3 separate regions of the Homo sapiens genome follow, and all the other regions are linked to region 1. The links are contacts of gene promoters, found by promoter capture Hi-C in blood cells and fetal thymus (Javierre and others, 2016). All regions are on one chromosome and are shown on one strand. Each heading gives the region's core, a stretch centred on a gene start or on the middle of the fragment in contact. The rest is flanking DNA. Distances are from core to core; before and after follow the strand shown.

Region 1 (2,936 bases), core at 235-2,734:
CTGTTCAGTTGCTCCCAGCTGAGATCTAGCCCAGAGCCTGACAGTGACTTCTATACATACCAACCAACTGACTAAATGAGATCTAGCCCAGAGCCTGACAGTGACTTGTATACATACCAACCGACTGACTAAATGCAGGCTGGTTAAGCACTGGGTGCACTGTGGCCCCTTCGCAGTCAAGAATGCCTTTCTAAGGCCTAATCAACCACAACTCCAGAGCTTCAACAAGCAGATATACTCAGCCCCACCCACAGGAGGTCAGAGAAAGCCAACAGACCTTAGCGACATGTCAATCAAGGGAGTGGTGGGAACCCAGGCCTCCTAACATCCTTCAGAGTAGTTTGCCCAAGTGCTTTTCTGGTTTTGCTTTTGTTTGTGGTGGTTGGCATTGCTGTGGTTTAATTTTTCTTTTAAAAAGCAGCTTCCCTCTCTGCCTCAGGAACTCGCAGGCCTCTGAAGCATCGCCTGCAAAGATTGAAGGCTCTCCCTCAGCTGGGTGGGAGTCCGGACTGAAAGCCTGGAGGAACCCTTTGCAAGCTGTACTCCCTTATAAGACACATACTTTTCACCTGGTGACTCTCTTTTCCTGATTTCGAAGCATTTCTTCAGGACCTACATATGCCCGAGAGGCAAGCAGTCACCTCTGCGTTGTCAACCACCCCACAATTAGAGCACGTGGTCACTGACCCAAGGAAGGAATGAGAATTCACTAGGTGCTCTGCTTCCATTCCCACCCCGTTTATCTCGATGACGGATTTCACCAATCCCACAGAGCACGTTTTACAAATGAGACAGCCGTGGCTCATAGCGTCTGTATTCGAATTTGCCTCTTTCTGAACAAATCAATAAAACACGCTCTTTCCCACCACCCGACGATCTGGCTTCTGGAGGTGAGCGCCAGTTCCCTGCCAAGCTTCCCGTTCCTCGGCTTTGGCTCACGAGAAGGTTACATTCTTCCGTCCCGTCCCACTGAGCTGGAAACTTACAACTCGAGGAGACAGCACCTCTGTTCCAGAAGCGGGCTTAGACCAAGAACGCCTCCCCTCATCCCACCTGCTAACTCCACCATCTGCTGCCGCCAGGAAGCCCGAGCCGCTCGGCACGAAGAGGAGAAATTCTGGCAAAGTTAACTCCATGTCACTTCCTGGTTTGGTAGAGCCTGGCATCACCTTTAGTAAGGTAGCCCATGCCCCCGCTCCTCTTGGCCTCGATGCAAAACTGGAAAGAACATTCCAAGGCAACGGGACCCAGGTTGGCGAGGCTGGTGACAGTAAGAAGGAAGGGTATGTACACTAGGGGACGTTAGGTGACTTCGCTTTTTCCAGAAAAAAACGAAGGTTAAATTCAATTCCCCTTCCTCCCGGTGTTAATCACTACTCACCGGCGGCGTCTCCTCTAAGGCCCACCTATCAAAACCTTCTGAGAAATGACTCGGACTCTTCGTGCAACCCGGAGGCACAGCCTCCTTCATCCCTTCCCAATTCAGAGCTGCCAAGATGCTGCAGTGTTTTGCTTTCAAAGGTCGCGATTTGATTTGCCAGACTGCCTGCCAGTCAGAAGTTGGCAGGCATTTCGCGCAGGCAAGTGGCTGCGAGGACGGGGAGTAGGCGGGACAGCCCCTGGCAATTGGCTGCGCTGCAAAGCTTGCTTGAAGCATAAGGGAGCGACCTGGGGCTAGAGCTTGGCGCTCACCTGGAGCGGGGACCCCCTAGCGGCCACAGGAAGAATGGTGCGGCGACTCCCCTGCCCCCTCTCCCGCTGTCCCAGAGAGCTTAGGTGGTTGCTCGCCTCCACCTGCCCGGCAGGTGGGCCTGGTTTTAGCAGCCTGCCAGGTGTCCTCCCTTCTTATCCTCATAGCCACCTTCCGGGCTTTGCTCCTGCTGTTCCCCTACCCGACGCTCTCACCAAGTATTCAAATCCAAAACGTCCTTGAAGACCCAGCGCTCCCCAGAGCCCTCGCGAGACTTGGGACCAAACATATCTCTCCTTTCCTGCCCTCCTGGAACACCTGTCGGATACCAAGCCTCCCAGCAATACTGAAGGTCCTGAAACGAGCCCAGCGCTTGGTTAATGTTTCTATAATGTACATAATTATCACGGCCATGATAATTAACATGCGCATGGAGTTTTACAGATGACAAGCTTCTCATCGCTCACACGTTGTCATATACACGCATTTGCTTTCAGATCGTCACAGCCATGAGTGAGACTTGAAGCCCGTTTTACGTATGAAGAAATGTCATTTGGGCCTAGACATCAACAATGAGAAAGAGGCAGTTCTAGTCTCAGATCGTGGGGCAGAGAAAGCTCCTTGGGAACATGGGAGAGGAACGAGTTGGTGCATTGTAGAAACTGCCCGAAGGCCAGCAGGGCTGGTGAGAGATTTTTCTGGGGGCGTGGTTGGGCCTGCGATCTGAGGGACGGGCCAGGGACAGTTTATAAATAACATATTTGGGGGCCGGCGCGGTGGCTCACACCTGTAATCTCAGGACTTTGGGAGGCCAGGAGGATCACTTAAGCCCAGGAGTTTGAGACCAGCCTGGACAATATAGTGGGACCCCATCTCTACAAAAAAATTTAAAAATTAGCCGGGCGTGGTGGCGAGCGCCCGTGGTCCCAGCTACTCAGGAGGCTGAGGCGGGAGGATCGCTTGAACTCGGGAGGCGGAGGTTGCAGCGAGTCGAGATCGCGCCACTGCACTCCAGCTGGGCGACAGAGCAAGACCCTGTCAAAAAAAAAAAAAAAAAAAAAAAAGCTTGGATTTCACCCTAAATTTAAAGGCGAGCCATTGGAGGACTTTAAGCAGGGGAGTGACAAGGTCGCTGAGACCGCCCTGCCCTGAAGCGTGTGAAGAGGGGCTCCTGGAATACTAAGTGGCTGCCCTTGTATAGTCGCCCATGTCAATTTTTTTTTTTTTCTTCTGTTAGAAACAGGGC
Region 2 (2,964 bases), core at 39-2,538, 230 kb after region 1:
TTTCTCTTCCAAAAACTGATGGGACCAAAGCTGATCCCAGTTTCAAATAATTATCAAAAAATTGGAAACGAAATATGATCAGAAAAGAAGAAAGTTGAAAAAGAAAATCCTCATCACCCAAAGACAACAACCATTAATATTTTGGTAATTATTATTCCAAATATCTTTCTATGCATACAGACAGACTCACACACACACACACACACACACACACACACTTTTTTTTTTTTTTTTGAAACTGAGTTTCACTCTGTCGCCCAGGCTGGAGTGCAGTGGCGCGATCTCGGCTCACTGCAACCTCCGCCTCCTGGGTTCAAGCGATTCTCCTGCCTCAGCCTCCCTGATAGCTGGGATTACAGGTGAATGCCACCACGCCCGGCTGATTTTCTGTATTTTTAGTAGAGACGGGGTTTCACCATGTTGGCCAGGCTTGTCTCCAACTCCTGACCTCAGGCGATCCACCCGCCTCACCCTCCCAAAGTGCTGGGATTACAGGCGTGAGCCACCGCGCCCGGCTACACACACACTTTTTTAATGGGCCTATGTTTTAGCACTCGCTTTTCTGTTTCTCAGTGTGTTGCAAACACCTCGGTGTCGATACACACCATTCGGCAACGTCCTCCTAAAGGGCCGCATAATATTGCGCGTCGTGGCGTGTGCCTTACTGGGAAGCTACTGCTGTCCAGGTGAACACCACAGCCTTCGGGGTCAGAAAGACAGCTTTCCCCAGAACAAGCACCTGAAGCTCTGGGGCCTGCCGCTCCCCGGGAGAGAAGTACGTGGAGAAGGGCAGCACGGATCCGCCGGGATCCCCGGGGGCATTAAAGGGAATCGCGTGTGTAAGGCGCGGAGCTCAGCATCCGGCTCAGAAACGCGCTCGGATCCCGCCAATGGCATTGAGGCCGCGTAGCCAAACCGGCCTTGAACTCTCCCTAATCCTGCCAAAATGGCCCGTCCTGGAGCACTGGACTGGCCGTGGGTTATTGATCATCAGCCGGTTTCTTCCCCTCCCCTGCCCTTCCCCCGTGCACGGATTTACTGATTTTTTTTTCCGGGAATTGAGTAAAACAAAACTAAGTGCAGATGAAGCAGAGGTACGGGCGAGTTTCGAGCGCGGGGACCGGCGCGCTCCCCCCCCCCCCTCCCCCCGCGGCGGGGCTGTCCCCAGGGACCTTCTCAGTGAATCCTAGGCGGCAGGGACGGGCCCGCGGCTCTGCGGGCCATTGGCTGCCGACTGCGTCACCTGCCCGCGGTGGGCTAGGAGACGGGAGGCGGGAGGCGGGAGGCGGGGACCTGGGCCCGGGCGGGGACGCCGCGGCAGGAAGGCCATGGCGGGGCCCGAGCGCTGGGGCCCCCTGCTCCTGTGCCTGCTGCAGGCCGCTCCAGGTAAGGGCGCGGGGCCGCGGGAGGGAGGGGGAAGAGGGCTCCCCGGGCCGGGCCGCGCCTACCCTCGGACCCGGAGCTCCTGGGACAGGCACGGGGTCCGCAGCCACCCGAGCCGGGTGCGAATCGGCCCTGCCTACGCGCCCCCAGTTTGCTTCTTCCCAGGACTGAACAGAACCGGGTCTTTGATATTCCTCTCCCGCAGGAAACGAATCCAGTTTCCTAATGCTTCCAGCTTCAGGAGAACTGGAGAAAAAAGACAGCGGCAGTTTGATACTGCATATTTTTTAATAAAGTGCTTTTTAATGTTTCCTAAAGAAAGCACTGATCCCTGCGTGAAAACCACACTTGACCCTAAAGTGTGGACAGCAGGGAAAGTGGGACCGATTGATGTCCCTTCCCGTTCCTGCCAGGCCTCTGGTGGGACGGAGCTCTGGTCGCCTGTGCCCTGCTTTCTAACAAGACGGCTTTCTTTTGGTGGTGGTTGTTGTTTTGTTGTTGTTTTGTTGTTGTTGTTGTTGTTGTTGTTTTCCCACCTCTACTGATGAGTAAGGTGTCAGGTACAAAATTCCTCGCCGTAGGACCCAACCACCAAACCTCACCGCCCACGACTCCAACCGAAGCAGGGAAGAGAAGGTCCAGAAATCGCCCCCAGGATATTTTCCTAGTCTTGGACTCACAGTTTAAAGAGCTGTAAAGGTCCCTGGGCATAATCCAATCATCATAAAAGCCTATATTTATTCAGCAACTTCTTTGTGCCAGGCACCGCATTATTCTGGAAGCCTCACGACCCAGCCATCCTCGGAGGTAGATATTATTTTTACTTTTCCGATGGGAAAACTGAGGCTCAGAGCAATTCAGGGAATTCCTCAAGAAGGATGGCAGAGGTGAGGCACACAGAAGAGAGAAGAGGGGCTAAAGCAAGCCTGGCTAGCTTTTGCCTCCAGGGTAGGCACGTGGGACAGGCTGTCCATCCACTGGGTCACTAGGCCAGCCAGGGATGCTCCAGCCCCCAGTGCCCACAGCAGCGTTCTCTGTGGCTGATGAGGGACCGTGTACCTGTGTGTGGAGGGAGGGTGGGGTCTTCTGTTCCCCTTTCACTGTCAAACCCAGACCTTCTTGTACTTTCACCTGATAAGTATTTAATATACACAACACTAACTATGGTGTGATGATTTAGGAGTAAGTACAGCCAGATCTAAGTTCAAATACTGGCTCCCACACAAACTGACTGTGTAGCCTCAGGCAAGTTAGTTAGCATCTGTCTCTGAGCCTAGCGCCCTTTCCATGGAAGCAGAATGAATGACACCTACCCCATAGGGTGGTCTGTCCCAAGGGTGATTGAGGTTTTACATGTAAAGAGCCAAACTAGTGCCTGGCATCCTTTGAAGGCTTCATAGAGGAAAGTTGCTCTAACTGCTGTTTTTCTCATGTGACCTAGCTCGAATCTGGGGACTGTCCTGCCCATAGGATACCTTACAAGTGGCTTGCAGACAGCCTGGTCTCCTGCTGGTCACCCGTTAGGAAGTCCAGAAGCTGGGAGTAGTAATAGCACTAGCCTCGTGGTGATACAGTCCCAGC
Region 3 (2,819 bases), core at 139-2,638, 240 kb before region 1:
GATTTTTAATAGGGAAAGATGTTCTAAATATACTGTTAAGTTAAAAAGTGAGGCAACATATCTACAGTTGAGCTTCTGTGGGGTTTTTTCTTTTCCTTTTTCTATATGCACAGAAAATTTCTGAATAAAAGCTTTAGGAGGTTGGAAAAAGAATGATACGTTTCCAATTTTATACTTCTGTTTTCTGTTTCACTATTGTATCCTAGGGACCTATTACTTTTATAACAATGTAACAGAAAATTAAATTTTGCAAAAGGACTTAAAACCAAAAAAAGAAACAATCCTGCCTCCTCAGACAGATTTCTATGTAGGCAAGTAAGTACTCATGCTGCACACACAGATGTTTATATACCAAGTATTTTTTAATAGGAAATACAGGTAGAAAAAAAACTTTCATCACCATCCATACCAGATGAAGACTGCTGGTTTTGTCGTCTGTATTGGCGTCTCTGCTGCACAGAATCTGCTGCAGCCATTTTGCCACCTTTATCTTCTTCTGAAAGATGGATGCATTTAGAAAGTGTTTCTTTAGTTAAGCATATAGAAAATTTGCAATTTGAATAGGAAAATAGTCTCTCAAACCTTCATTTGGTTGGATCAAAAATACAACTACTATATATTTTTTTTAAAAAGAGTTTAAAATGCCAATTCACAGGCTGATTTAGACTATCTTCACCAAATATAATAAAATTTATTTAGGCATTTACTACAGGTCAGGCTGGTGCCAAGCATTTTACAAGCAGATACAGTTAACTGTCAAAAACCTCTACTGTCCCTATTTCGGAGATGAAAGAAGAAAGGCTCAGATAAGTTAATTAAAACAGAAACAGTTAAATTCTGGAATGGGGGATTCCACCCAAGTCTGTCTGCCTTCAGAGTCTTAGCTCTTACCCTATACTTAATCTTCAAGCAGAAGGGGATGACCAAATGTGCAAAAAATCAAAATCAGCTTTAAGAAAAACAAAAACAAACAAACCAAAATCACAAAAAAAAACAACAAACTTACCCGATTCAGATAACTCTACTTTTCTAGGCTTCGGTGCTGGTGAAGGGGATTCTCTTTTCTCAGTACCTTTATGTTTTGTCACTAAAAAAGAATAAGAGTGGAAAAAAGCTTACGTACAAAAAAAGGTCTATACAAGATGCTTTTCTTTTAATTTTTAAAAATTTATTATTATTTTTAAATAAAGATGGGGTCTCACTATATTAGTCAGGCTAGTCTTGAACTCCTGACCTCAAGCAATCCTCCTGCCTGAGCCTCCCAAAGTGTTGGGATTACAGGCACAAGCCACTGTGCCCAGCCAAGATGCCTTCCTGCTATTACAAAAATGGGTGTGACTACTCTCAAAAAGAATTTATGAAGACTTAAAAAATTCCTGTAAGACCTTGTTGTCATATCTGAACATTATCTGAAGTGAGACAAGAATTTTTAAATGTTTAATGAAAAGCCTCAAAAAGTTCTACAATGATTTTCAAATCTTGAGATTCTCCCAAGAAAACCAACAGTTAAAGGAAATTGGGAGCTGCTACTGAGTAGAACAAGCTCAGTAAAGTAAACCTCTGTGTGCTACACGAGCTCCACAATCTAAAATACACACCCTCCACACCCACACTCACTCCCTCACACTCAACTTCAGAGACTTCATCAACATGAAAGCTTTTAAGCAACCACAATAGGTGGGTTCAGAAAAGTAAAAGATGATAAATGATTAAGAAATAAGATCTCATGAAACTTTCACAAAGATATTTGGTCTAGAAAAGAAGAATGACTGCCCAACAGGTTAAAGGTTCTTTATGTAGAGCATAATCTTCACAATAGCACAGGGGATTTAAACTACCCATGAAAAAAAGCAGACCGCCACAAATAGTAAAAATGATTAAATACAAAGACGAGGATTCTTTCCAAAGAGCTAGAAAGAAAAAAAGGCATTTCTATACCTCAAGTAGTAGGAGAGCAGTGGGTATCCTATGAATTATCCAATTGTCTTTTACCAATAACATAGAAATATGGTAACTACCTTTTGTAAGCCTGCTGTATTAGACACACTATTAACACAGTAGTATCACATCCCTTTCTCCCTGTTCCATTTCACAAGAGAGGAAACCTGAGGCTTAAAAAGAAGCAACTTCACCTCAGTCACAAAGACAATTTAAGTGAGCTAAGATGTGAATCCAAGAATCTATTTTTAGGCCATGGGTTTTAATCTCAACAACTAACTCTGCTTATAGTATCTATCCATTGCTACAACTAAAATCATAAGTATATTCACATATAAACATATATATACCATAAATTAACCTAAAACACCACTTGAGAACATCCCAATAAGAAATAAACCTACAGACAATTTGATCCTCTCAGGATCCTGATACCTGTTTTGTGTGATTAAAGCAATTGCCATGGAATGTTTGACTCAGAATACAGATACATCTCATTTAACAGACACTCACATTCAGAATTCTGTAATGGTTTATTCCAAGGGGCAGTAATTAGAGAACCAGTGATCTAACACAGTAATCGCATCTTTGCTAAAGAAGTCAAAATGAAGAATTTACCAGTATGCCTTTTCAATGAACAGACTTTTCCCTTTCTCTCTCTTTTTTTTTTTTTGAGACAGAGTTTCGCTCTTGTTGCCTAGGCTGGAGTGCAATGGCATGATCTCGGCTCACTGCAACCTCCGCCTCCCGGGTTCAAGGGATTCTCCTGCCTCAGCCACCTGAGTAGCTGGGATTACAGGCATGCGCCAACCACGCCCGGCTAATTTTGTATTTTTAGTAGAGACAGGGTTTCTCCATGTTGGTCACGCGGGTCTTGAACT

What was found. The method cuts DNA at HindIII sites, captures the fragments that hold promoters and counts their contacts. A CHiCAGO score of 5 or more calls a contact.
Region 2: a contact is called between the fragment with the promoter of IFNLR1 here and the fragment with the promoter of NIPAL3 in region 1, in 7 of 17 cell types (total B cells, naive B cells, M2 macrophages and 4 more). The highest score is 13.5, in total B cells.
Region 3: a fragment that was not itself captured here is called in contact with the fragment with the promoter of NIPAL3 in region 1 in 1 of 17 cell types (naive CD4 T cells); the score reaches 5.1 in naive CD4 T cells.

The regions. Positions count from the first base shown.
Region 1 is chr1:24,414,350-24,417,285 of GRCh38, reverse strand. NIPAL3 (NIPA like domain containing 3) reads right to left here and starts at 1,484. Exons shown (of 12, transcript NM_020448.5): 1 at 1,382-1,484. It also overlaps a transcript of STPG1 not described here. The HindIII fragment of the contact is 730 bases long and covers 916-1,645 here.
Region 2 is chr1:24,185,613-24,188,576 of GRCh38, reverse strand. It overlaps IFNLR1 (interferon lambda receptor 1), which reads left to right and starts at 1,288. Exons shown (of 7, transcript NM_170743.4): 1 at 1,288-1,386. The coding sequence starts at 1,329. RefSeq lists a silencer at 1,026-1,515. The HindIII fragment of the contact is 11,665 bases long and covers 1-2,964 here.
Region 3 is chr1:24,658,987-24,661,805 of GRCh38, reverse strand. It overlaps SRRM1 (serine and arginine repetitive matrix 1), which reads right to left. Exons shown (of 17, transcript NM_005839.4): 10 at 1,007-1,087; 11 at 410-496. Among named protein-coding and RNA genes, the nearest start is that of SRRM1, 17 kb to the right of the region's middle. The HindIII fragment of the contact is 543 bases long and covers 1,117-1,659 here.